Regions from separate parts of the Homo sapiens genome. Here region 1 is linked to region 2. Evidence: promoter capture Hi-C in human tissues and cell types (Jung and others, 2019). All regions are on one chromosome and are shown on one strand. Each heading gives the region's core, a stretch centred on a gene start or on the middle of the fragment in contact. The rest is flanking DNA. Distances are from core to core; before and after follow the strand shown.

Region 1 (2,700 bases), core at 79-2,578, 300 kb before region 2:
TATTCAGAACTTATATTTTTAAACTTCATTAATTGTACACAATAAATTGAAGTGACGATATTTATATAATATAGATTTCAAGATTATCTTCTCAGCACGTATGAAGATTTATTATGATGTTTTCATTATAGCTATGCACCTACTTACATTAAAAATTAATGTATCACAGCAGTGTCTTTCAGGCAGTAGTTAAAATAAAGAGAAATTCTCCACTAGATAGGATAAATACTAACAAGAGGTTGCTGCAAACCCCAAAGTGCAATTTTTTTTTTTTTGAGATGGAGTCTTCCTCTGTTGCCCAGGCTGGAGTGAAGTGGCGTGATCTCGGCTCACTGCAACCTCTGCCTCCCAGGTTCAAGTGATTCTCCTGCCTCAACCTCCCAAGTAGCTGGGACTACAGGTGCACACCACCACGCCCGGCTAGTTTGTATTTTTAGTAGAGAAAGGGTTTCACCATGTTGGCCAGGATGGTCTCGATCTCTTGACCTCGTGATCCACCTGCCTCAGCCTCCCAAAGTGCTGGGATTACAGGCATGAGCCAATGCACCCGGCCTGATGATTGGGTGTCTTAATTTTTACCTGGGAGGCTAGAGTCACTCGTGTGACTACATCAGGGTGGCTATTTGGTTATTTTCGTGATTGTTTAATGTCTTTGTCTGTGTTCATGTTCAGATTGAGTAAGTTGCAATCTTGTTATTGTCTTGTTCCACCATGGTTACGGAGGGACCTTGTCTGATTATTGTTGTTATTCTGTGAAAACTGCTTATCTTGCGTGAGGGAACGCTAGATAGCCGCCAGCTGCAGGCTGTCAGGGTCATCCTGTTGTGTATCACATTCTCAACCCGCTATTAAGCTTGGACTCTGACATGTGCTTGTTTCCACATAGGACTTTACGAAACCCAGGTCACAACGTGTGACCAAGAGTTGGGAAGAGGGATAGTCCCCCTGTTTCTGTAGAGTTTCCATGCAATGACTGAGAGTTTGCTGCTTCAGGAATGCTCTGGGCCTGATGGCAGCATCCTCTTCAGGGCTGGGGTCGGGGGTGAGAGGGAGCTGCTGCCCTCCAGTGGCTGTCTAGGAAATTACATCAGTGACTCTTCCCCCAAATCATGCTTAGATTTTCTGGGAACTTCCCCGAACGTGGCAAGGCAGAGCAGAAGGAAAGAAGATTCGCCTGGGAGTAAAAGCCAGCAACTTTTGGGTATTACTGTTAATATGGCCCCATGAGTACTCTCAACTTGGTGAAGCCTGGAAAAATGGAGATTATGTGACTTGTAGGTTTTTGATAATTATATATTGTGTTGCTTTTATAATCAAAGAAGGTATCTGTTGAAGATAGAAGAATAAGAACTTAAATATTTGTGGCCAGGCACGGAGGCCCATGCCTGTAATCCCAGCACTTCTGGAGTCCAAGGTGGGAGGATCGCTTGAGGCTGGGAGTTTCAGACCAGCCTGGGCAACAAAGCAAAACCCCACCTCTAAGGAAATTCTTTTTTAAAAATTAGATGGACATGGTGGTGCATATCTGTAGTCCTAGCTACTTGGTAGGCTGAGGCAGAAGGATCTCTTAAACCCAGGAGTTCAAGGCTGTAGTGAGCTATGATCATACCACGGGACTTCAGCCTGGATGACCGAGCAAGACCTTGTCTCTCTATAAAAGGACCATGCAACTTAGAAATACAGCATAATTAAAGATAAGAGGGTTAGAAAAGTTTTTACTATCAAGGGTTACATAAATAAAGATTAAAATTTCACTTAAGTTGGAGAGGATGCTGAGAAATTGGAATCATTGTGCATTGCTGATGGGAATGTAAAAATGTGAAGCTGCTGTGGAAAACTATGTCAGTTCCTCAAAAAATTAAACACAGGATTATCATATGATCCAGCAATTTCACTTCTAGGTATATGGCCAAAAAAATTGGGAGCAGGGATTCAAACCGACATCTATGTTCATGGAGGCATTATTCACTGTAGCCAAAAAGTGGAAATAATCAAAATGTCCATCGACAGATGAATGGATAAATAAAATGTGGTATATCTATCTATTCAATGGAATATTATTCTGCCTTTTCAGAGGAAGAAAATTCTGGTACTTACTACAACATGGATGAGTCTTGAAGACATTATGCTAAGTGAAATAAGCATAAGCAAAAGGACAAATAGTGTATGATTCCATTTATATGCGCTACCTAGCACGGTCGAATTCATAGAGACAGGAAGTAGAATGGTGGCTGTCAAGGGATGGGGAGGGGAGAATAGGGAGTTACTGATTAATGGGTATGGAGTTTCTATTTGGGAAAATGAAGGAAGTTCTGGAGATGGGTGGTGGTGACGGTTGCACAACAATGTAAGTGCACTTAATAACGCTGAAGTGTATACTTACAAATGATTAATATAGTAAATTGTATGTTTTGTATATTTTGCCACAATTAAAAAAACAAAAACAAAAAAACCCTGATTCTGAGCCCTAAGCCAAACCAATTGAGTTGGGGAGAACAAAGGGGGAACAAGGGGTCAGGGTCTGAGTGCAGGCTTTTTAAAAAACTTCTCAGCCAGGCACGGTGGCTCACGCCTGTAATCCCCGAATTTTGGGAGGCAGAAGTGGGTGAATCACCTGAGGTTAGGAGTTCAAGACCAGCCTGACTAACATGGAGAAACCCCATCTCTACTAAAAATACAAAATTAGCCAGGCGTGGTGGC
Region 2 (2,700 bases), core at 126-2,625:
CCTTTTTCCTTGGCCAATACTTGTTAGTAAAGTGATTATGGTACTACACCAAGTTTTAGACTGTAAACTCCTAGAAATTATCATTTCAAGTGTGTATTAAATTTCAAGCAAATTTTAAACCGGTTTAAGATTCAGCCTTAAAGAACAGTTAAAATTGATTGAAAATAATCCAATTTCACCGCACTTTATACATCATAGTTGAAATGCAATGAAGACACATTATTACACAATAATGAAGAAGCAAAGATTTGGCCTGTTATCTGGGAAATTAGAGGGTGGACTACCTGGGCTCCTTTTAGCAAAACACTTTTCCAAAAGAAACTTATTTTTGTTTTCTTTAAACAATACTGTCCTGTCCTAAACGAAATCATTTTTAGTCTGTTGAAAATCCACGTGTCTTTGCGTGTTTATTTATTTATTTATTTATTTATTTATTTATTGCAGTGTTCAAAAAAAAAAAAAAAAAGATGCAAGGTTTCCAGCCCTGAGGACCAGGACGCTGTAGCTCCTGTCTCAGTTCAGCCCTAGCTCTAATTGTGACCTTGGGAAATGTCCCTGGCTCGGGGGACTCGGTTTCCCTCTCTTCTCAATTATGAGTGCTCGGAACGTGGGGGTGGGACGGGCCCCCAGCACCGCAGACAAGGGGTTACAGCTCGTCCAGCTTCATGCAAATCCCCAGCCCTCCTCGTCGCCTCGGCTCTTCCCATCCACTCAGCCACTAGCTCGCTCGGAGCAGTGTGCTCCCGGTGCCCCCCGCGGGGTACCCTCGGTTCTGCACGGCGCTCCCCCTTTGTGTCTTGCTGCTAGGAAGGGACCTTGCGATCATCCTTCCATCCGCCGAGAAACGCTCCACCTACCCTTCATTCTCGACCGTGTCTTTCCCGTTTCAGAGAACCCCTCACACTGCTGCCCTCGAGAGACCCCCGCCGTGGCTCTGACCGGGAATCCCTCTCCTTCCCTCCCCTCAGGAGACCTTCCCTTCACACAGCCTTCACCTCCGGAAGAGCCCTCAATTCACACAACCCCATTCTTCCTCAAACTCTCAGGGATTGGCACCCGGCTGCCTTTTGCGGAGCCGCAAAGGACCCTCAGCCTCCCCCACCTCCGTCATCGGGTTCTGGGGACCCCTCTCACCTCCGCGGTGAGAGATGTGTTTACTGAGGAATCGCTGCTTCTTTCTCTGGTGCAGCAAGGTCGGGTATTTAAGCAACAAGAATGAGGTCACCAAGTATCCTCCTAGCGTAGAGAGAAGGTAAAAAGCCGCAGTGGACGACATCTCAGTCACCGTGTGGGAAGTCTCCCACCTCCGGGCCCTCTGAACTCCGCTGCGGCAGTAGCAACGACGGCGGCGGCGGCGGCTGCTCGAGGTCGGCTCGCCCCCAGCCGGTGCCACTGGTGCAGCGCACTTGTCGGTGCCGGCCTACTGCGCACGCGCAGCTGGACCCCAGCGCCCCAGCAACAAAGAGGCTCCGACGCGCAGGCGCTCTCCGGCTCCCGTGTAGGAACCTGCAGAGATCCTGGACTGAGCGTTTGTCACCTAGCTCTGTGGACGGACCCTCATGAAGAGAAAGCTTGCAAACCTGCCAGTGTGTTGGCCATCACTCAAGCAGAAAAGACTATTCACGGGCAGCCTTTCCTAATTGGAAAATCCACATCAAAAAGGAAAGATTCCAGGGCGCGTCTTATCCCTTGCTCTAGAAAATGCAAATAATTTGTACCTATGGAGGCGATAAAGCTTGCTAAAACACTAAATAAACTCCTCCGTTTATCTAGCCTAGAGAGAATTTCCCCTATGGTCGCATATACTAGAAAAGGTACTGGTTTATCAGTCAAATATCTGAGAGATCGGCCCCTGTCCTCCCTCATTTCATTGTGAAAGTGCAATCCTCATTCTTTGTACACAATAGGCACTGTAGAAGTATTTGTTGACTTACAAGTCCGTATAAAATAAGGAAACTTTGTTAAGGTTATAAGGTATTACCTAAAAGTCCTAGAAAGACAGATAACTAAGTTCCAGAAGGCCCTACTAGTTTTCCTTTTACCCGACAAATTACAAACTGCTAACACACGAAAAGCCACACACTTCAATGCAAAAGAAATAAATCACCCAGGACTGAGGGAGAAATTTTACGGAGAAGACCATATCTCCCACAGGACTAGAAAAGCAGAGTGAATATTTAAAATCCTGATTCAGCCGGGCGCGGTGGCCCACGCCTGTAATCCCAGCACTTAGGGAGGCCGGGAAGGAAGGGTGGATCGCTTGAGCCCGGGAGTTCGAGACCAGCCTGGGCAACATGGCGAAACCCCATCTCTACAAAAAATAAAACAAAATAAGCCCGGCGTGGTGGCGTGCACCTGTAGTCACGCTACTTGGGAGGCTGAAGTGGGAGTATTGCTTGAGCCTGGAAAATCGAGGCTGCAGTGAGCTATGACTGCACCACTGCACCCCAGCCTGGGCGACAGAGCAAGACCCTATCTCAACTATAAAAAGAAAATTAGAAGAAAATAGGGGGTGGCTGGGCACGGTGGCTCAAGCCTGTAATCCCAGCACTTTGGGAGGCTGAGGCGGGCAGATCATTTGAAGTCAGGAGCCTGGCCAACATGGCGAAATTCCATCTCTACTAAAAATACAAAAATTTGCCAGGGGTGGTGGCGTGTGCCTGTGATCCCAGCTACTCAGGAGGCCGAGGCAGGAGAATC

The links. Contacts are between HindIII fragments. The study calls those that stand out against the background at their distance.
Region 1: a contact is called between a fragment that was not itself captured here and the fragment with the promoter of GDPD1 in region 2, in 1 of the 25 tissues and cell types used here (bladder).

Annotation. Positions count from the first base shown.
Region 1 is chr17:59,520,038-59,522,737 of GRCh38, reverse strand. The region is part of intron 1 of LINC01476 (long intergenic non-protein coding RNA 1476); the gene reads left to right. Among named protein-coding and RNA genes, the nearest start is that of LINC01476, 5.5 kb to the left of the region's middle. The HindIII fragment of the contact is 4,297 bases long and covers 1-2,700 here.
Region 2 is chr17:59,219,186-59,221,885 of GRCh38, reverse strand. GDPD1 (glycerophosphodiester phosphodiesterase domain containing 1) reads right to left here and starts at 1,375. Exons shown (of 10, transcript NM_182569.4): 1 at 1,135-1,375. The coding sequence starts at 1,276. RefSeq lists an enhancer at 799-1,349. The HindIII fragment of the contact is 11,394 bases long and covers 1-2,700 here.